Regions from separate parts of the Homo sapiens genome. Here regions 1, 2, 3, 4, 5 and 6 are each linked to region 7. Evidence: promoter capture Hi-C in 16 types of primary human blood cells and fetal thymus (Javierre and others, 2016). All regions are on one chromosome and are shown on one strand. Each heading gives the region's core, a stretch centred on a gene start or on the middle of the fragment in contact. The rest is flanking DNA. Distances are from core to core; before and after follow the strand shown.

Region 1 (3,115 bases), core at 2-2,501, 440 kb after region 7:
CTTGTTGGTCTGAACCCAAATCTCCTACCAGGCACTGAAGTGTCCTCAATTCATGGTCTGGAAAATGAAATGGAAGGAGCCTTAAGATTTCATTCTTCTGACTCCCCTAAACTTTAAATACACCTTCTCTCTGAGAGAACATATTAATACTAAAAGCCACCAATATTTTTACTTCCTTTTAAAGATTATCTTAAAGAGTGAACCCATCTACCCACTATCCTCATCCAATAGAATCAGCTGACCCAGTCCTTGTTGGAGAGATTAATAAAAATAATATACTAATGATGGCTAACATTCATTGAGTACTTACTCTGAGTCAGGTACTATCCTCCAATAACCCAGTGAAATACATAATACCATTAGTCCCACTTTATAAGTGAGAAAATTGAGGTTTAGAGGATTAGGTAGGCTAACCATGATCAGGCAACTGATTAGTGCCAGAGACAGAATCCAAGCCAGGAATGCTTTACTTACGAGCCCATGCTCTTCTCTCTGCATAATGCTCTCCCCAGTGAACTTCCCACTCCTTCTCTGCCTCCCAAAATGACCAGAACATCTCTGCTTTCCCAGACAGCATGTCAGTTTCTCCTGGGACCATGGATCCTGTCTGAAGAACACTCCAGACCAGAGCACTTTCCTACTGACATGGACGTGTGTTCTCCCAGATACTTCACCCCACTCAGCTCAGGCCCTAAGGAGGTTTATAAGCTAAAAACAGTCTGGTTTTCAAGTAATATTGAATGACCCCATCAGATACAGTATGATTGGGAGTATATTGTGTGTACATTTAAAAGGTAAGACAGAAAACTGCAGATATACTCTGATTATTATTTTATTTTTTATTTTTATTTATTTATTTATTTTTTGAGACAGAGTCTTGCTCTGTTGCCCAGGCCAGAGTGCAGTGGCACAATCTCGGCTCACTACAACCCTCTCCTCCCAGGCTCAAGCGATTCTCCTGCCTCAATCTCCTGAGTAGCTGGGACTACAGGTGCATGCCACTACGCCCTGTTAATTTTTGTATTTTTAGTAGAGACGGGGTTTCACCATATTGGCCAGGCTGGTCTCAAACTCCTGACATCATGATCCACCCACCTCATTCTCCCAAATTGGTGGGATTACAGGCGTGAGTCACCGCATCTGGCCCTGATCATAATTTTATAAAAATTGTACATTGCATCGAGAAAAAAGTGGACACAAAAGGTTCCTAGTGGCTATCTGTGAATGATAAGATGATGGATGGGTTTTTACTTCCTTATTGCTTCTTTCCTTTATGTTTCCAACTTTCTACAGCAAAAATGAAGCATTTTTATGATCAGAAACAAAGTTGCTAACTAAGCTGACTGACCAAAAAGGAAAAAAGTCCATATGACTCAGAGTAAAAACAAAGAACTACTTAATCTATAAGAAACTTTGTTGGCACATGTTCTGTCTTTTTGCTACTTACATACCATGCCCTGGTTATGAATCTCAAACTTCATCTAGTTCCACTTAGTTTTCCAGCCTGCTTCTGATGTTGAGTGAAGAATGTCAGTGTTGGGAGTGAATTACCTTAACACATCCACGGTCCCTTATCAGTCCAAGCCACAGCTTTCTGCAGAGGGAAGGTTTAATTACCAAAAGCTCTGTGACGCAGTTAGCACTATTTTTGGCTGGCAGGCAGGGCAGGTTAGTTCTTTATCCATCCCTGCCTTGGCTGAGCCCCAGAGGTCACAGACAGAGAGCATTTTCACCATCCCAAGGCCAAGCCCATCTTTCTAGAAGCCATTCCAATGCTGCCTCTTGAGAAAGCAGTAAGGCCCCAGTTCCCTTCTGCAAAGGAGTGGCACAATTTCTCCTCCTGATATTCTCACCCCTGTCTAGAATTGCAAGCTGTCTCAGGGCATGCTCACTGCACTGAGAGAGCTGCCCTTGTTTTGTAATACACCTTACTGGATACATTTCAGAGGGTTAGGTTGAGATGGTTGGCAGTGAGTTCATGCATGGCTAAACTGCACCATGCGAGAAATCAATGGGAACTCAAGGGATTGGGAATTAAGGAGCTGGGGAGAAAAGAGGGGAGGTTTGAGCAGGAAGCAAGAGATCCTATCAATGTGGTGGGGAAGCATGTGCCTGGGCAGCAGAGATGGCCAATGAAAACTGTCCCAGCAGTGACAACCAGAGACCTCAATATAAAAGCAATGACAATAATAGCAATAATCATTTCAAGACCGACTTTGAATTTTGATATCTTATGTCCTTGCTTCTAAGATAGGCTTTTTTTTTAAGATTTAACATTTCTGAAATTGGGATGCATATTATAGTCAATATCAACATTTATCTACTATAGTATGTCTCTTTTTACTTGAAAAACTATTATTACATTGTGAGTGCAATTTACAACTAAGGGTGACTTAGAATGGAGTGAATGTGGCTGTTTAGAAACCTTCTGATAGAGACAGATGGGGTTGGGATGACATTCTCCTTTTCTTGTCTCTTTGCTCTTAAGGTTTCCACTCCCCTAACCGTTCATACAAATGCACAGAAGCAATGCCTCAGCTTCTCTTCTTCACCTAGCAGACTCCTGCTCATCCTTCCAATCTTGAATCAAATGTTGCTTCCTCCAGGAAGCTTCCCTGACCTAACTGAAAAAGTCTAACTCCCTGTTGATCTGTGTGATTGATGGATGTGCATCATCCCCCACTAGACTGTACCCTTCTTGAGAACAGAATTGGAACTTGTTTCCTCACTGCTAAATCACCTATTAAGAGCACAATAGGGTTTCCAATAAATTTTAGCTACATTAAAATATGTGAGTCTCTAATAGAGAGCTCGAAGACAAATGATTAATTCCCACCTCAGATGATCAAAATTTCTTTCAATGATCCTTGGCAAATATCCCTAATAGCAAGGGTGGACATGAGCTAGACCTTCAGAAAAGAAGAAAGTCTTGTCACCTTTCTACCATCAACAGACCATGTTGATATTTAATTAATTGCATGTTAAATAGTATTTAGGCATTTATTATTATTGTGCTTTTGCCCCGCTGGCTCCCAGTGACTCCTTACTCCTATTTCAATTACAGGCCAAAGCCTCCCTTGAAAGGATGTTAAGTGAATAAAGAGTATGATCATAG
Region 2 (3,177 bases), core at 65-2,564, 350 kb before region 7:
TACCTGATGAATTTCTTCACTCAAGGTGTTAGGAGCTTAATGTGTTTCCCCCGCCCCCCGCACCAAGAGAATTTGTGTTTTCCAAGACAGTCAGAGAGTGGGTGGTGCTGAACTCAAAGGAGTGAATCACTAATAGTGGAATCCCAGGCATTCAGGGAGGTCCTATTTCTGGGGTGGGTTCCTTCCTGACACTTCATTTTCTACAAAGGTGGCAGCCACCTATTGTCTCCAGAAAGGAGGCTGTCCCTGTGGGTGTGGTGACGGTGGGAAAGGAGAGGCACCTGCAGGCTGAAGCCAAGATCACCTGATTTTCAAAACCAAATCTGTCCCTACAAAGGAGAAGTGGCTTAAAAATCCACACAGCCTCCCGAGTGGAGGGAAGAATTCCCTCTCCTCTCTGGAACAGGGTTCCCTTCACCCAGAACACGGTGCTGTTGTTATGCAATGTCCCTGTTGGCAAAGATATTTGAGCCCCTTGTTTTCAGGTCTGTGTCATTTCCAAGAAAGAGCTGTGGCCTTTGAGTAGGACTGGGCTCCTGAATAGGGTCCCTGGTGCCAAATGAGGGAGCCAAGAAAAGGCAGAGAAGAGGAAAGTCCTGACTTTTACATGAAGATGAGACAGCCAGCCCTGTGGCAGCCAGATGGCAGTCCTGTTGCTCTGTAGTGGCCTTGGGGTCAGACTAGGGGCAGAGCTGGGCTGAAGGCAGGAAGGCCAGGACAAGACAGGTGAGAAGGGCAAAGTCTCCTGTAACCTGGTGAGAAAATGTGGGCTAAGCCATTCTCATCTGGAGCTGAAGGCTTGGTGGAGAATGGCCCTCAACATTCAAGTTCACACCCATGGATTTATAAAAGGCAGGGCTGGGGGGAAAGGTTTTTCCCATTATACTTAATAACATTATCAACAACAATAATCACTACTATCATTTATTGAGCATTGACTCAAAAGACAGTCCTTTTATGAAAATTATTTACTTAAATCCTTACAAAGCTTCTATTCATTCACCCAACACATATTTATTGAGTTCCTACTATGAGCCAGGCATTATTCTAGGTGCTTAATTTAGATCAAGGGACAAGACAGACAAAATCCCTGTTCTGGTGGCAGGGCTACTACATGCAATTAACAGCACACAACTCTAGGGGGAGCCACATACATGGGCCACCTTATGAATGGTGTGCCCTGAGGTTAAGCATCCTGGCAGCCCCTTTCTGTGACATTTGCATTCTAGTGAAGGGAGTCTAATACCAATGAAGTAGATGTCATTATCCCCTGACTACAGTTTAGGAAACAGAGACACATAGGAATTAAGTAACTTGCTGAGTTTTTCAGCCAAAAATGACTGACCCATGATTTATACTGAAGTCAGTCCTTGCAATTCACCTGTGCCACGTACTTGCCTTTCTCTCCCTGGTGGGCACAGGGAAGAGGGAGTAGCCAGGCTGGCCAGATGAGTGCTGGGCTGGCTGGCCCAGTAGAGGCACCATGTCCTGACTGGGTGGACAAAGACTGGGTAGGAGGTAACAGAGAATCCCTTGGTGAGTCTAACTTAGCTATAAGAAGGCTTGCTGAGAGCAGCTGCCTCCATGCAGAGGGTGGGGTGACCGGCCTTTAATCCTTCCCAGCTGAGGATTTAGTCAAAGAAGCTTGTCTCTGGGGATAGCCTATGGTCTTGAAGGGCCTGAGTTAGCTATTAGTTCACCCATTTATTTAACATTCATTCATTATTTTTAAAAAATTTCCTAGCTATGTTTGGGGGCAGAGAAGTGGGTCCAGAGACCTAGAGGTTTGCAAGGGTAGCTTCTAAACTCCTTTGGTTCAGAACAGAATAGAAAGTGTCCTCGGGTGACCTTGGGTCTGCTTCCCAAGCAAATTGAGCATACGCAGCCAGAACAAAGACTGCACTCTACTCTAGTGAGCTCAGCCTGCTAGGCTTGGATCTAGATTTTATAGCAATAAGCTTGGAGTCTCACCTTTGGGTCAGACAGAGTACTACCCCAGACATGAGGTAGGGAGAGCCTAGTCTATATTCCTCTGCCTTTGTCCAAGCCTGCTTTGTCCTTCCTCTTGACGAGGAATAAAGATGGCTTCTGGGTGTGCATCCCCTTCCTTCTTCCACCTGCAGATGTACCTGTTTGTGTGCAGTGGGCTTCTGAGTCCTGGGCAGGGATGCCAGAGACCGCAAGCCAGATGCTTGGGATGCCAATCCTTGGGACTTTGAGGAGAAAGAGAGGTTCTGAGGGGCATCTGTCTATGGCACAGAGTCAAATGGAACACATGGAAGTCCCTTAGAAGGCTGGTATCTAAGTGTTGGCCACACAATGTCCGTTCTTCCTCCATTATTTGAATTTCTCCTTCTCTATCCTTCTATCTTTCTTGGCACCTTGAGCCAGGTCTGGGGTGAGAGAAGGGATGGTGTAGGTGAATTAGTGGTAGTTATTGGAGGAAGGCAATAAACCCAGAAAAAGTGTCACGTGACTTCTTTCTTGGGCCCAGTGTGACGCTTCTAGTTAGGCTAACGTGGGTCTTGGGACTGTTCCTGAGATTTTGTGGAAAACTCTTTGTATTTGTGCTGGTAACAGAAGGAAACCAGAGTTAGGGCTGGTGGGATGAAGCAGTGGGAACACTGATTTCTCCTTTTTTTCAGATTCAGGGATTTCTGTCAGAGACATCCGTGGGGGAGGGATGGGATTGGGAGTGAGGAGAATCCCTTTCCTCTCCTCTCACCATCTGGTGGTCCCCGTGCCCACGCACCAGCTCGTTGGATGGACATTTTGATTCCCTTAAGATGTACATTCTTCAAATCATTGTTTGTCATTAGCTCCCTGGAGAAAATGGAGGGGCTGAGATATTAGTGAGAAAACATAAAGTTAATTGGGTGATGGAGACTGGGAGAAGGGGAATGTTAGAAGAAAGTGAGCGAGGTCTGCTAAAAGTGAACTTTATCTTCTTCTCAATTTTGCCTAAGACTCGTGTTGCCTGGGCAGTCTCTTTTTGGAAGAGAAATTTTCATGACAGTTTGGGCCAGAGATGGCAAATAAATGCCTGACATGGTTGCTGCCAGCCCCTGTCTCCCGACACGTTCACAAGGGTGCACACCACTTCTCCTCTCTGTGACCATAGACTCAGACCCATTGCAATCCAGCATCCTGCATGGCCCCATTGGTCAGAGTTGACAT
Region 3 (3,201 bases), core at 512-3,011, 360 kb after region 7:
GAACTCCTCTTGCTGGTGAGAAAGAATGTGCCACCATTACTAATTCAAAGCAGATCTGACCTAGCTACAAACAGCTACACACATTTTCCCAGGATCCTCTACCCTTCCTTTTTCTTTTCCTCTTAAAAGGAATGCTCGTGCTTATTTGTATACAAACATTCATCCCCAGCAGAATTCTACTCTAGGTCTTAAAACTAGAAGGGCACTCAAAGGCATTGAACCTAGACTCTTGCTTCCAACCTGATATGTTATTGCCCCATTTTACACATGATGTAGCTGAGGCTCAGAAAGTCACTTGCCCAAGGTCCTTTAGATAGTAAGTGCAGAGCTCAGACTGAGGGCTCCTGCCTCTTAGACTCTCTTTCCCTTGATCACACTCCTCCCTCCATTTGAGATCAGAGCCCCAGAACTGGACAACAGCTCTTCATTTGCTCCTTTCTTCCCAGCTCCAGCCTAGGATGGGGTTTTCTATTATATGATTTCATCAACATAGTTAATCCAAATGTATCATCCTTTTTAAAAAAAAAAAAAAATTCAGCCAACTCCCTTCTGCTGACACACTTCAGCCCTGGAGTTAGGACGCTCTGCTTTCCTTTGCAAGTGTAAGCATGTGAGCACCTGCATGGGGTGATCTGGGAGGGCCCAGCCCTCCTGTTTCATTTGCTAACATTTAGGTCAGAAGTAGGCAGGGTTTTGAATGTTTCATGAAGTGACTCACATCCAACAGGCTTGAAAACAAGTGACTGCCAAGGACCAGGACCTACAATGGCAGACCCACTGGGGCTGGAAGACTTGAATTCTAAGGGTGGCCAAGACCTTGATTGTACCCCATTTGTCCTCATTGAGCCTATTTGTTTTATTTTCATGCTGAGAGAAGAAAAAAATAGGTCAAAAATATTTCTCTGGTTAGCATGCAGAATCAGGTGTGTCTTAGTCTGTGCTGCTATAGCAAAATACTTGAGATTGGGTAATTTATATAGAACAGAAATTTATTTCCTCAGAATTCTGGAGGTTGGGAAATCCAAGATCAAGAAACTGGTATCTGGTAAGGGCCTTCTTTCTGCATCATGACATAGCAGAAGGCAGAAAGACAAAGAGAGGGCAAGAAGGGGCTGAATTCACCCTTTTATAATGCACCAACCCCACTCATGAGGGTGGAGCCTTCACGATATAATCACCTTTTAAAGGCCACACCTCTTAATATTGTTACAATGGCAATTAAACGTCAACATGAGTTTTGGACTGGACAAATATTCAAACCATAGCCCAGTGGGTGGCCCTAATAAGTGTGTCTTCTCCAACCGTTCCAACTCTGGGCCTCTCTGCTCCTCCTCCCCACTGTTAGAACACTTAGTACAAATTAGGAGGCTGTGTGGAGTTGGGTGAAGTGTCCTGACCTGGCCATACAAGCTCTGCTGTGCATCAGGCAAAAGACTCAACCCTTCTGATTCCCAGTTTTCTCATCTGGAAATACAGCATAGGGCACCTTAAGGATTAAATGGAGACAGATGTAAAGACATTGCAGTACCCACCAAATATCACCCCTTTTCCTCACTCCTGATCATATTAGTGCATTTTTTTCCACTCAAAGGCATTTGTATTATAATGGGGGGCAGCCTCTATAATAATATTTTTTAAAAAGATGAATTTCTAATGGTGGTTTAAAGCCTTGGAAATAAGCCCAAGAAAAAAATGAGGCAATATTGTCACAGCAGGCGAGGGACCCTCAATGACCACAAGCATTGAAAAGACTTGAGAGGCAAAGAGTCAAGGGTTTAAGTAAGCAACAAGTCATGGGGAAAGCCAGCAGAACTTAAATGGCTTCCTTCGTCTTTCTTTTCATGTGGATGGACCCAATTATCACACAGCAACTATGTGGTTAAGAGTAGCTCACATTTATTGAGCTGCTACTATTTGCTCTGTCTCTAGACCACTGCCAATGTCTTTATTTCCCTTTTGTCCCCCTTCCATCCATGGCCTACCCCATTCCTTTGTATCCTTCATCCCCTTCTCTCACAATCCTTCTCACCCATACACCACCATTGACTCTCAGCTGCCTTGTCTGAACAGATGTCATGAGAAAGGCTGTCCCTTGGGGCCAATATAGGACACAGAGAATAACCAAGCTAGCAGGTAGGGACGCCACTACCACCACCTGAGAGACTGGCAGAGACAGAGATGAGGCTATTTTGTTTGCTTGTCACCTTCCGCTAAAGGTATTTCCTGAGCATTTTCTGATGATGAAGGAGCCAATCAGGAAAATCTATGGCCTTCCTTGCAGCCCTCCCAAGTTGAACTGATTCTGTTCAGGGAGCCACTTCTTACTTCTGTTTTTTTTTGTTTTTTTTTTTTTTTTTTTTAGATGGAGTTTCACTCTTGTTGCCCAGGCTGGAGTGCAATGGCACGATCTCAGCTCACTGCAACCTCCGCCTCCCAGGTTCAAGTGATTCTCCTGCCTTAGCCTCCCAAGTAGCTGGGATTACGGGCATATGCCACCACACCTGGCTAATTATTTTTGCATTTTTGGTAGAGACGGGGTTTCTCCATGTTGTTCAGGCTGGTCTTGAACTCCCGACCTCAGGTGATCTGCCCGCTTCAGCCTCCCAAAGTGCTGGGCACTTCTTATTTCTAACCTAAGCCCTGTTGTCTGCACCAACAGCAGGCACATCTTATGGAGAAGTCAGGCTTCTTTCTAGCCTTCCCAGCTGTCCTTCCTCCCTTCGGCCACTTGCATTTTCCTCTCTTTGGAAGGGTGGGAGTGGGAAGCAGAAACAGACTCAAGTCCACAAAATGTGGCTTCTGAGGCTGGGCACAGTGGCTCACCCGTGTAATCTCAGCACTGTGGGAGGCTGAGGTGGGCCGATCACTTGAGGTCAGGAGTTTGAGACCAGCCTGACCAACATAGTGAAACCCTGTCTCTACTAAAAATACAAAAATTAGCCGGGTGTGGTGGCACATGCCTGTAGTCCCAGCTACTTAGGAGGCTGAGGCCGGAGAAATGCTTGAACCCAGGAGGCAGAGGTTGCAGTGAGCCAAGATCGCACCACTGCACTCCATCCTGGGCAACAGAGCAAGACTCCATCTGAAAAAAAAGAAAAATGTGGTTTCTGGCTCTTAAAATCAATGCCAATAAATGTCAGAAAATTTGCTACTGGCAAGTCAGGCAGTTTGAAAAATAAGTGTGGGCACTTTGGCCTTGGG
Region 4 (2,919 bases), core at 420-2,919, 400 kb before region 7:
CTTCTCCCTTTTCTCCTGTGCCCACTGCCTTCTACCCCAGTTGGAGGTAGATACCTCAGGACAACTGGATATTCTTTGCCCAGCCTAGCTGGGTACCTTAAACACTCTGGACCCTCACTCACTGCCCACCGATAGATCCGTGGAAGCTGGAATCAGTTTCCCCCAAATGTAGTCATCATTCTAGCTGCCTAGTAAGTAGGAAAAGCTCAAGAATGATTAACACAAGGTGGTGGAATCAGGTGGGCTCACTTCACACATGAGAAAGTTGGCTGCAGGTACCTGTGGGAGTGAGGCAGAGATGGCATGGAAGCTGAGGTCCCCAGATGCCTCCAGTGGCTTCTGAACCCTTCTCAGAGCTGGCTCACACACCAAATGCACACAGAGAGGGTCCACCGAGTTGGAGGGACAGGCCTGTGGGCTTCTCAGTGTCACACAAATCAGAGGCAGCAATAACAGGTGTGGCTCCCATGGCCTGAGCAACCCGGCACCCCTGCTCAGCCTCCCAGAGAGAGGGGAAGGAGCAAACCACTCAGCCTTGGCCAGTTTGCCAGAGGAGGAAAATTCCTTCCTGACTCTGGTGGTGATCATCAACTTCACTCTGGGCATGTGACCAAAAATTGGCCCAATTAAGCATCTACACATTGGCTGTTTACGGGCCAAATCATCACTGGGCAGAACTAGGCCATAGGGTGCAAAATATAGAAAAAAGTGGCCAAGATTGGGCTTCCTCAACCCCACCCTCTGAGTGGTATCATTGGGAAGAAAATCGGTTTTCCTTCCTTAAAGCCTCAGTGATACCCAAATGTCCACTCCGTCCCAAGACTTGTGAGCAAGGGAGGGTCAATTTCCCAGCCCTTGGACCTCCCTAAGAAGGGGCCCACTGAGGAGAACCCAGTGGAGTATTTCAACACTTACTGCTAAAGAAAGATTGAGGGTTGGGTGCTTGAGGGTTTGTTCTTCTGAGAGGAACCCTAGCAACTGTGAGAACCAATTTGCTGACCTCTTGTCAAGTGATTCCTCATTTTTCTTTAGCTCGCTTAGGGAGTTTGCGTGTTTGTTTGTTTGTAGCTGTTTTTCTGAAGGTGCAGCGAAGATCCAAAAAGGTATGCCATGTAGTTTGCTGTAGGCTTCGATGCAAAGCTTACCAGTTTTGGATTACATATATCAGGGGTTAAATCCTACCTCTGCTGCTGCGAACGTGGGGCACATTTCTTACTACCCAGACTGCTGAAATTCTTAAGCTTTTTTTCATATAGATGTGGTATATAAATATTCATGCCCCTCTTCGAACTACGGTTTCCTCATCTCTAAAATGGGGATTTTTTTTTTTTTAAATCATGCAATCCGATATATGCAAAGGACGGGGCATAATACATATATTCAATCCTGTTTTAGAGGGAAAAATCAGCCATCAACAATGTATCTAAAAATTTGCCACTCTGGTGACTTCTGAAAAAGGGAGATGACCAAACTGAAAACTCCGGCCCGAGAATACCTTAGATTATGAAAAACAGTATTGCAGAGAACACGAAGACAACAGAATCAAGCGTTCACTCGGATGGGCAAACCACCCCTTTCCCTGGGTCTCTGGACTAGACTGAACCACAGAGCTGCCTCCCTAAGTCATCTAGCCTTTCTGGCCTCAGTTTCCTCATCTGTAACATGAAGCGATTGCACCTAGTGATGTCTGACACACTTTCGGGCGTACAAAAGGCATCCACACGCAGGCCCGGCTTCAGCCTGAGGAGGGAGCTTGTGCTACCTGTCGCTGTCAGCAGGGGGCAACCCCACAGAAACCCCACACACTGCAGAGTCTGACAAGGCCTGAGAACACAGTGGAAAAACGCTAACCATTGCTTTTCTGGAAGCATTCTCTTCTGGGGAGATGTCAGAGGGCAAATGGGTTTCTTTTAAAACTGTTTTGTACAAATTCCTGAAAATGCCCCAAACTATAATAAGGGAGTTCTCTGTATCGAGGGGGTGGGGGACAGTGGGCAGGCCGGTGGGGAAAGGAATTCAGTCAGGGGAGAAGGGTAGGTGGGGGGCTTTCCTTGAAGCTGAATATTTTTCTGAGTAAAATCCAGCTTCCCTTCCTAAAGAAGCTTTAGGGAGGATAGAGAACTGAGCGCCTGGGCGCGTTCTCTTAATTCCCCTTGGTTCAGCTAAGGGATCCAGAGGGAGTGGTGGCTGTGAGGAGGGCTGGTGGCCACACGGCCTGCGGAGGCAAGCAGGTCTCTCTGAGGCAAGCCGTCACATCCGTGTCAAACAGCTCCCGGAGGCCCTGGGACTGCACCCAGCGCAGGTGCCGGCCCTGGAGCTGGAGATGGACGAGCAGACCCAGGCCCCAGGCCGAGCCTCTGAGCCCTGACACCCCTTACGATTCATCCAAAAAAGCAAAGAAAAGGCGCTTACGTGAGGGCAGCGGTGGCTAGGTCCAAAGAGGAGGCTTTCAAGGCAAGAGAAGGCAGGCGCTCCCAGCACCAGCGTGCAGTGGAAATAAAGACACCTGTAGCCTTGTGATATAAGTGACACCTACAGACAGGTCCGTTTGGTTTTTCAGGTTTACGCACAGCCCCTTTGATGACGGTGACATACAGTGTGACACGGCTCCTTGGAGGGGGGGAAATGGTTCTCATATGCAGAAAGTTTACCTTTATCCTGCTTTTGTGCGCAGCTCACCCCTGCCCTGCAACCCCCCACTCCCAGCCCAGGGGACTCAGTAAACAAGCAGAAAATTCTTGTCCCTGGGAGCTGTGCGGGGATCGTGCGTTTGGTGAGGAATTTTCCTCTGTGCAAGCTGGAGGGGAAACACAGAGATTCCACCCTGGTGCCGGTCTGCGCTGCCTCTCTCCCAGGCTGGCTGAGCCCAGTGCTTTTGTAAGATCATGTCTTTCTCCGTTTTTCCCATGTGGTGAGAAG
Region 5 (2,875 bases), core at 154-2,653, 460 kb after region 7:
AGAGACATGACAACTAAATGCAGTGCAGGACCTGGATTGGATCCTAGAACAGAGAGAGAACATTACTGGAAAAATATGAAATCCAAGTAAATTCTAGCAATTGTTGCAAAGTTAATTTCTTAGTTTCGATCAATGCTCTATGGTTATGTAATACGTACGATACCATTAAAGGAAGCTGAGGGAGGAGAATGTGGGAACTCTATGTATTATTTTTCCAATTCTTCTATAAGTCTAAAATTGTCTGAAATTTTTAAAAATTTTCAAAAGACAAAAAATGTAAATGAAAAAAGGATCAAAGCCACTGCCATTCTTGGGTTAAAAACCAACATGTTTATCTTTATAATTGTAACCAAATTATCCTGTTTCCACTTATGTATGTGAATAATTACTCATCTTGATTTAACATTATATCTGTTTTCAATTGTGAATAATAATTTTTTTTAAGCCGGCAATGGTTACATTTAGACACCTGGATCTGCTTCAGAAAAAAAAGCAAAAACAAAAACCAGATTACTTCCACATGCTTCAAGATATGAATCTATCATCTCCCCCTCTCTTTGACTCATATCCTCAATGTCGCTATTCGACAAATTTCCTCAACCCCTGCACATTGATGGAAGCTGCTAGGAAAAGCCTGGATCACTTGGAGGTTGAAGGTCATTTTGTAGCCAGCAGTGAGCTTCCAGAAATGCAGCTGGTACTATAACCACTGAGGAATGAGCAGGCCAAGTGTCTTCATGAAGATCAGAATGGCTGACAGGCAGAATGGTAAAGCAGAAATAGGTGTATGTCCCCCCTTCCAATGTGCGGGGCACTGACGTAAACACTCTATCCCCATTAACTCATTTAGCGCTCACTACATCCTTAGGAGGAAGGAGCCATTAATATTATTCCCATCTCACAGATCAGGAAATTGAAGGTCAGAGGGGTTAAGCAACTTCCCAAGGATGTACAGCAAGTCAGCAGTAAAGTTGGGATAGAGAATGGAAACCACGTGTCTCAAGAGACTGTAGGCATCTTTTTCCTTTTCAAACTTTCTTGTTTCAACCAATATTGGACTGGCTATCTCTGTCAAATCATCCCTGGTTTGTTCTCAACTCAGAGAGTGGGCTGCAGGTCAGCCAGATGAATGCCACAGAGCATGCACTGTGTAACAGATGCTCTACACCCGTCATTCCATCTGTTCGTTACCAAAGGGGGATGATGATCAACTCTATTTTCGTGAGATAACTGAGGCTCAGAAAGGCTAAGGAACTTGTCCAGCACCAGAGAGCTAAGTGGCTATGTCAGAACTTAAGCCCACACATCCCTGATGGCCGAGGTCTGTGCTCTCTTCATTCATTCTATTTCCAAGGAAGACTCGCAAGATGAAAAAAAATCATCAAGTAGATACCAAGAAAGGAACCTCCCAACAACCCCTAAAAAGTAAGCTGCAAAGATAGGCCTGAATAGGCATATTCATGCTGATTATTCCATTGACTTTGCCTGTCGTATTTGTCAAATCCAGATAATTCAGACCCTGAACAGAAAGAAACGTTTTTGTTTTGTTTTCTCATTTTACATACTGACATGTTCTAGCTTATCTAGAAAATTGCAAGCATTCTTTTTCTTTATCCCAGTGTTGGCTTTTCTTTAAGAAACACAGATTCACAACCTATTTCACTAACTGGCCATTGATAAATAAAAATACTTGCACATGGCAAATGGAAGCAACATTGTGCAGGAACTTGGAGGTTCCTTTAGTAGTTTCAGCCAGAAGAATAAAGCCATACAGAACCACACAAGCTCCCAGAAATCCAAACCCAGCTGATTGGTTTTACACTTGGAAACATAATCAGCACCACCACTGCCTCCCATCCCAAAAGCCCTTCCACAGTTACTAACTCCAAATTCTGAACGGGAAAAGCAATATGCAAATTTAGAAAAAGGCAGAACCCCCAGATCCTAAAGCCCAGGCTCAAATCACAGTGGCTTGATGCCTTTGCAAAGCATTACTTTAGGGACTGATTATTCTGAAACGTTGTTTGGGTGATGATACCCAAGACACCAGGGCCCTGCCTCCTGGGAAGACAGCAGTATTAGCTTGTGGCTGCATAGTAGACATCGTTCATCAAAAACAGAAGAAATACCAAGAAAAAATATTGATGCTAGCTGGTCTGAAGCAGTTTAAAATTGTCACAAACCTGCACTGATTTGTTAGCATCTTTATCTCTGAAAGCGCTCACCCTTATTCACATCAGCAATTTGTGTCTTTAGGAATAACTGAAAATTTTCATGAAAACTAAGAACCACCTAGTATAAGATTAAGAACCTTTCCAATGCATTGGAGACAAGAAGGACAGGGTGAAAAAATAAGTCTGCCTGTAACTGAAGCTCTCAATTGGATTGATAAGTCTTGTGCCTTGAACTTACTGCTCACAAAAGCAACAAGAGTGTGACAGGCAAGAGTGTCTCCAGACTAATATATAACCCGTGGTTCTCTTCAGTTAAGCTCTATGAATAGTTGTCTATAAGGATGCAGTTAAAGTTGGCAATACCTGGCCAGATTGGCAAGGATGCATAGCCAATGCGGCTAAATGTAGCTCATGGAAGGGGAAGGAGAAGATGGAGGGGTAAGTCTGAAGCTCCATTGTCTGTGAATTAAATGCATTAAAATTTGTGACACATGGCCAGGCGCAGTGACTCATGCCTGTAATCCCAGCACTTTGGGAGGCCGAGGGGGATGGATCACCTGAGGTCAGGAGTTCGAGACCAGCCTGGCCAACATGGAGAAACCCCATGTCTACTAAAAATACAAAAGTAGCCAGGCGTGGTGGTGACATGACTGTAATCCCAGCTACTCAGGAGGCTAAGGCAGGAGTATCGCTTGAAGCTG
Region 6 (3,127 bases), core at 524-3,023, 410 kb after region 7:
CTCTTCCATGCCCATAACAGCAAAGAACTCTCATACATTTCCTTTCTTGTCTTCCATAACAGGAACCCAAGCAGACTCTTCTCCTTGTGTTCATCTTTCAATCGTAAATAATAACCAACATTTCATCAGTTTAACTTTCTAACAAATAAGCTAATAATAACATTTGTGTCATTTAAAAAGCGTTTTTGCATTCATCAAGAGTTAATGACATCCCGGAGAGGGAAGGATTATTCTATCTTAGAAATGAAAAGACAGAAGCTCCAGAAGATTCTGAAACTTGCCCAAGCTCATGAAGCTTGGAAGTAGCAGAGTTAAACCTGTGCTGTGGTTCTGCAGCAAAGTTAAACCTGTGCTGTCCTTTGCCTTTGAGTCCAGTGTTTTATGGGTATACTCTTTCTTGGGGTATTTACAGAGCAATGGACATGTTAGAACTACCATCTACACCAAGGCACTAGGTAGCTACTTATGAGACTTGCATTCTAGCACATGGAGAGGGAAGATAGAGAGAGGAAGTGCTGCTAAATGAGAGAAAAGGCAAAGTGAGCTCTGGGGAGCTATGGCCTTGTTGTCTGTCTTGGACAATATATGCTGCTGGTGCCATGGCCCCAGATGTACCATCATAAGAAAATGGCATCCACTCAACTGACTCCTCCCTTCAGGCAACGAGGGCACACAGGAACCATCCTATTCCCACTGACTCAGCCAGCACTTGCTGCTGTGAAATAACCTCAAGGGTTCACTCCAACTCTGGTTCTTCACCGGGAAGGACTCCCCCATCAGAGGGACCCTAATGTCTGGTAACTGGTAATAATAAGAATAATGATGGTGACAATAATGATGACAGCAGCTAACATTTACTCAAAACTAACTTCACACCAGGTATTTTTCTAAGTCTTCTTATATATGAACTTATTGATTTCTCACAATAACCTCAGGAGATAGGTACTACTATCAGCAACTTTTACTGAAGGAAAAATGAAGTCATTGAATGGTTAAGTTACTTGCTCAATGTCACAAAAGTAATGGATGGTAGAGCTAGGATTTGATCCCTGTCAGTCCTGGACTTGGAAAAACTGGTCAGCCCACTCTCCCTCCAGCCCGAGAAAACTTGCTCTTTATATTAGGCAATTTCATGCTAGCAATAGACATCGACACTGAACATTTGGCCAAAAGAGTGATTTTGCTGTTGGGGGATGGGAAGGATCCCAGAGAGAAGAAAGTTAACACCTAGTCCAAACCAGAGCCTGATCCAAGAGCTACATACAACAGTCATGGAACCCTAGAATTTCTGGACTAGAGAGTCTTCCTGTCCCCTCTCAGCCTCTGGACAAATGATTATCTGGTCTAGTGGCCCCAACTCTGTCTCTGGATCACTTGTTAAAAATACAGATCTCCAAAACTTATGTCCACACAAAACACTGCACAGGGATATTTATAGCAGCTTTATTTATAATTCCCAAAACTTGGAAGCAACCTAGACATCCTTCAGTGGGCAAATGGATAAACCATGGTACATGCAGACAATGCAATATTATTCAGCACTGAAAAGAAATGAACTATCTATCCAAAAAAAGACATGGAGGAAAAATAAATGCATATTACTAAGTGGGAGAAGCCAATTTGAAAAGGCTACATACTGTATGATTCCAACTATATGACATTCTGGAAAAGGCAAAACTATGGAGGGGCATGGTGCTGAATAGGTGAAGCACGGAGGATTTTTTAAGGCAATGAAAATACTTTGTATGTTACTATAATGGTAAATACACATCATCATACATTTGTCCAAACCCATGAATGTACAACACCAAGAGCCAACCCTAATGTAAACTAAGCACTCTGCATGATAATGAGGTATCAATGTAAGTTCATCGCTTGTGATAAATGTACCACTCTGGTGGGTGATGTTGACAGTTGGGGAGGCTGCACCTGAATGTGAGCAGGGGTATATGGGAACTCTCTGTACTTTCCACTCAATTTTCCTGTAAAACTAAAACTACTCTTTAAAAAACAGCATATTAAATAAAAACAAACAAAACAAAGCACAAAACAGATCTCCAAGCCCCATCCCTGAATATTCCAATTCATCACATCTGGATGGGGCCTAGACCTCTGGGCTTTTGCAAAAGCACCCAGATGACACTGTTGCAGCTAATCCACATACCAATGTCTGGTCAATGCCTGAACAGTTGCAGTGCAGGGCAGCTTATCACTTCTACTCTAACCATCCCGCCGTTGGATAGCTTTGACTATTAAGAAGCCCTTCCTTTATGGTGAGCCTATATCTGTTTCCCTGCAGCTTTTACCCACAGGTTATTTTTCTATCCTGTGGAGCTACCTAATAATAACAGTTGCCATCAGACAATGTACTGGATGCTTTACATGCATTATTTCATTGACTTCCCACAACACTCTCACAAGATAGCTACTATTATTAGTCCTTCTTTATAGATGAAAAACTGGAGGTCAGAGAGAGGAGCACATTTGCTCCAAGTCAGGCAGTTGGTGAGTAGATGAGCTGGGATGGCAACCCAGCTTGGCCTGAACAAGGTGCACACACTTAATCACGACACTTACAGAAAATGAAGCTGAATCCCTTCTCCATCTACCAACCTTTGAGGCATATGAAGTTTCTGCTCAGGGTTTTCTCTTCTCCCAAGTTTGTCACTATCCTGGTTAAAGCACCTCAAGCTACTTACTTGCCTGTGCCTCCCAGACCTGCACACAACCTTCCAGGTAAGGGCTGGTCACTTCCCCACTCCCCTAAGCCCATCAAAGACTGCCTTTCTCACTTTCAACCTCCAGCACGTCAGATTCTACCAGAGCTGAGGCTTCTGCCCTGCCTTTGAAAAACTGAAGGGCATAGGTAATTTCACAGTAGAGAAAGAAGGTGGTAGGGAGTACTGGTAATGAATAGAACCATTTATTGACTTTTTATTCTGTACCAGTGATAGGTAGAGTAATGCCCCAACAAATGTCCATGTCCTAATCCCCAGAACCTGTGGATGTGTCAGATTACATGGCAAAGGGGCTCTAAGGCTGCAGTTGCAAAGAAGGTTGCTAATCAGCTGACCTCAAGATAGGGAGATGCGCCTGAATTCTCCAGGTGGGACCAGTGGAATCACAG
Region 7 (3,215 bases), core at 274-2,773:
TAACTGGGTGTGGTGACATGCGCCTGTAATCCCAGCTACTTGGGAGGCTGAGGCAGGAAAATCGCTTGAACCAAGGAGGCAGAAGTTGCAGTGAGCTGAGATCACGCCACTGCACTCCAGCCTGGGCAACAAGAGCAAAACGTGTCAAAAAAAAAAAAAAAAAAAAAAAAAGGTTGGCTCAAATTTTTCATGAACATTGAGTGCAGCAAAAAAAAAACATGCCTGTCCACCAAGCTGTCTGTGGGCCATGTTTGGTTTGAGAATCCTAGTTTATTCTCGGGTCCCTTAAGGCTCTCTTTGATGCTCATTCTGATGACATTACACTAAGATTTACTGATTGAGGGTACGGACACTTCTCCATACACACTTGCCCAGGAACGATCTCCAGTTACCTGTCCTGTCTCCAAGATCTTCTCTCTCTCATCCAATCTTGCCTATGCAGCATTCTATTTTCAGAGTCGTCTTTGCTAATTTGGGGAAGTCACTTATTCAAACAAGAAAGTGGTTGACAAATGTTTAGCAATGAAATCTCCCGCGAGTTACTACTTTTTAATTAGGATTTTCAACCCTAAGAAAGATATAGATAGGAGGAATAAGATAGGGGGAATAAGGAAACTAATTTTGAGGGGTTTCCCTGCCTCTTAGGTGGGGTTTATCATATTGTGCTGAAACTGCTTATTCGTCTAGTTCTCCAGACCCTGGGCCATTTATCTTACGTATCCCTATCTCTGAGCGTGTAGAAGGCGCTCCATAAAACTGTTGGTTTGTGTAAATGACCGAAAACTACATGCAGCGTGAGGGTGGATTTCCCTTTGACTTCGGCTTAAGGAAGAATCGTTCCCATGATCATCCCACAATTCATCTAAACGGAGATAGGCAAGGAGCAACTGCTCAAAGGCAAAGCGCTGGCAGCTGAGGCACAGCTCCGGTTCGGCAAACGTCTCCCGAGTGCCAAACGTCCCCCCAAACGCCTAACTGGTCGTCAGGGCGCAGAAAAGAAGCTTGGGGGGCGCGGTCTTCGCCCCAGCTCCACTTCGGTGCTTCACGATTCCTTCTCTGGCCTGCCTTCCTGATAAATACCCGGTGAGGTCACCTAAACGCTCTCCTCTCTCAGTTATTTGCTTCTTTCCAACGTTTGGCGCCCAGCTCCCGCCATCGGAGCGCCCCGCCCGAGACCACTGATCTCCTGGGGCCTCGCAGCCTTGCTTCCGAACGCCAAGGTCGCGGTGCGCCGGGGTAGCGAACGGCCAGGCCCGAAACCCCGCCCCGCAGCTAAACGCCCGGCCCGCTACCCTGCGCCCAGCTCCAGCCGCCGGGTCCCGCCTGGGCCTCTCCTCCTGGGAATACCGGGCACCGGTGGCCCCGCCCCTACCTGCGCGCCGCATCTCCGGGAACAACAGTCTCCCTCCCGAGCATCACAGCCAGACATGGCCCAGACCAGGGACCCGCGCGGCCTCCAATCTCCGCACGGCTTTGCGCGCGGCGCTTAGCCTGGGATACGGCAGCGAGGCCGCAAATGCAATCAGGCGGCGCTGAGGGCAGCCCGGGGGCGGGGCGAACGGGGCGGGGGCCGGGGTCTGGTAAGGCCCCGCCGGCTGAGATATCCAGCGGCGCACCTGACTTCCCGGGAGGCAAGGCCAACGTGGTTGGAGGCGGGGCTGGGTTGGGGGGCGGGGGTTCAAGTCTGAGAGACCTAAAGGCACCGCTAGCGTCTGGGGGCGTGGCCAACCATGCGGGAGGCGGGGCCTTGATGCTGGACATCAGGCTGTGCTGCGGGCAGCCAGTGAGAAGGCCGTCAAGATGGCGGCCTCCTGGAGGCTGGGCTGTGATCCGCGGCTGCTGCGTTATCTTGTGGGCTTCCCCGGCCGCCGAAGCGTAGGGCTGGTGAAGGGGGCTCTTGGGTGGTCTGTAAGCCGCGGAGCTAATTGGAGATGGTTTCACAGCACGCAGTGGCTTCGGGGTGAGTGGCCGGGGCTCGCTCAGCTTCTCTGTGTAGCTGAGTGATGGGCCTGGGACAGGGGCAGTTATGATTGAGGGCCTGCTTTTGGGTGTGAAGGTGCGCGGGCTCCTTATTCCCTTTCCTCTTTCTCCGGTTGGGGTCCGCCGACTTGGCCTAATGCATGCTGTGAAGGGCTTTCTTGGCAGCTGAGAGAACTCGACTCTGCCCTAGGCCCCCTGGTTTGTATGGCTTTGTGACCTTGCCTTGGAATTTGGGTTATTTGTGAGGCGCAGAGAGGGTTCCCAAACTCTCCTCCCTCAGCCCCCTTTCCAATCAAGGCTCAGGTTTCTTTAGGGTTGTCAAACGTCTCGGACGAGAAAAAGCTGCCCAAGGTTGCCGAGATTGAAAAGCCACTGTTGGGAGTTCTTACTTATTCTCTAGGCCTCTCTCTGTTAGGAGGTGTTTTCATTGAGGCCAGTCGAGTTTTACCCCACGCCATGACTCGTGGAAGACTTAAATTTGTAAATTCCTACGGCATCACGATAGACAAAGGTCCAGGAGAATGTTTCAAGCAAATATTCGCTTGAAAGAGCAAACATTTAGGAGATAAATCATACCAAAAATTTATTATAGAAAATTGTTGTTTAGTAATGATATTGATGCAGTTAACACAATTCTTGCAGTATTTAACAGTATGCAAAATGGCAGGCCGGGTATTATTTTTCCTTATTTTGGGAGAAGGTTGGAGGGAGGCGGGGATGGAGAATAGGACTGACGTTTTTTAGTGTGACGTATTACCTGCCAATCATCGTTCCTGGCACTCTACAGAATGAATTTTAATTTAAATAGGTCTAGTAGACGTTGCCTTCATATTCTGAGCTACCTTAGGCTCAGAAAAAAAAAATCACACAAAGTCATATGGTAAGATGAGTGTATTGGGGTTCCTAAAGGTTCCTTAATGGGAACAATTTATTTCATTTTTGGTGTAATGTTTCATAACATATTCCTTGGAGCAGAGGTGCTTTAACAGTGTGTGCAGAATTCCTTCTCTTCCCTCCTCCAAGTTTGTTGAAATTAAACTTTTTTCCAGCTCCTAGAGATTCGGTCTGGTCTGGTGTGGGGCTCAGGAATCTGCATTTTACAAATGTTGGATGAGTTTTGATGTTTTATTTTGACATTTAATGGAATGAGCTTTGAGACTCACTGCCTTAGAAAATCATGGAATATTAAAAGTTTAGTATTGGATATAATCTAGGAAGAGTGCTCTTAATCTTGT

The links. Contacts are between HindIII fragments. The CHiCAGO score rates a contact against its expected background, and 5 or more counts as called.
Region 1: a fragment that was not itself captured here is called in contact with the fragment with the promoter of APIP in region 7 in 16 of 17 cell types (activated CD4 T cells, non-activated CD4 T cells, naive CD8 T cells and 13 more); the score reaches 16.9 in activated CD4 T cells.
Region 2: a contact is called between a fragment that was not itself captured here and the fragment with the promoter of APIP in region 7, in 3 of 17 cell types (M1 macrophages, megakaryocytes and M2 macrophages). The highest score is 7.1, in M1 macrophages.
Region 3: a fragment that was not itself captured here is called in contact with the fragment with the promoter of APIP in region 7 in 3 of 17 cell types (total CD8 T cells, M2 macrophages and non-activated CD4 T cells); the score reaches 6.5 in total CD8 T cells.
Region 4: a fragment that was not itself captured here is called in contact with the fragment with the promoter of APIP in region 7 in 1 of 17 cell types (megakaryocytes); the score reaches 5.3 in megakaryocytes.
Region 5: a fragment that was not itself captured here is called in contact with the fragment with the promoter of APIP in region 7 in 16 of 17 cell types (naive CD8 T cells, activated CD4 T cells, non-activated CD4 T cells and 13 more); the score reaches 23.1 in naive CD8 T cells.
Region 6: a fragment that was not itself captured here is called in contact with the fragment with the promoter of APIP in region 7 in 10 of 17 cell types (non-activated CD4 T cells, activated CD4 T cells, naive CD8 T cells and 7 more); the score reaches 13.2 in non-activated CD4 T cells.

The regions. Positions count from the first base shown.
Region 1 is chr11:35,350,788-35,353,902 of GRCh38, forward strand. All of the region lies in intron 1 of SLC1A2 (solute carrier family 1 member 2), which reads right to left. Among named protein-coding and RNA genes, the nearest start is that of SLC1A2-AS2, 67 kb to the right of the region's middle. The HindIII fragment of the contact is 2,713 bases long and covers 1-2,608 here.
Region 2 is chr11:34,564,470-34,567,646 of GRCh38, forward strand. No RefSeq gene overlaps it. Among named protein-coding and RNA genes, the nearest start is that of LINC02707, 4.8 kb to the right of the region's middle. The HindIII fragment of the contact is 656 bases long and covers 987-1,642 here.
Region 3 is chr11:35,275,934-35,279,134 of GRCh38, forward strand. All of the region lies in intron 9 of SLC1A2 (solute carrier family 1 member 2), which reads right to left. Among named protein-coding and RNA genes, the nearest start is that of SLC1A2-AS1, 4.3 kb to the right of the region's middle. The HindIII fragment of the contact is 3,887 bases long and covers 1-3,201 here.
Region 4 is chr11:34,511,265-34,514,183 of GRCh38, forward strand. It overlaps ELF5 (E74 like ETS transcription factor 5), which reads right to left and starts at 2,530. Exons shown (of 7, transcript NM_001422.4): 1 at 2,413-2,530. The HindIII fragment of the contact is 861 bases long and covers 1,240-2,100 here.
Region 5 is chr11:35,376,280-35,379,154 of GRCh38, forward strand. All of the region lies in intron 1 of SLC1A2 (solute carrier family 1 member 2), which reads right to left. Among named protein-coding and RNA genes, the nearest start is that of SLC1A2-AS2, 41 kb to the right of the region's middle. The HindIII fragment of the contact is 4,207 bases long and covers 1-2,875 here.
Region 6 is chr11:35,327,525-35,330,651 of GRCh38, forward strand. The region is part of intron 1 of SLC1A2 (solute carrier family 1 member 2); the gene reads right to left. Among named protein-coding and RNA genes, the nearest start is that of SLC1A2-AS1, 47 kb to the left of the region's middle. RefSeq lists an enhancer at 2,862-3,127. The HindIII fragment of the contact is 2,961 bases long and covers 294-3,127 here.
Region 7 is chr11:34,914,856-34,918,070 of GRCh38, forward strand. It overlaps APIP (APAF1 interacting protein), which reads right to left and starts at 1,524. Exons shown (of 7, transcript NM_015957.4): 1 at 1,373-1,524. The coding sequence starts at 1,429. PDHX (pyruvate dehydrogenase complex component X) reads left to right here and starts at 1,763. Exons shown (of 11, transcript NM_003477.3): 1 at 1,763-1,960. The coding sequence starts at 1,801. RefSeq lists silencers at 1,185-1,524, 1,545-1,594 and an enhancer at 1,765-2,064. The HindIII fragment of the contact is 9,412 bases long and covers 1,000-3,215 here.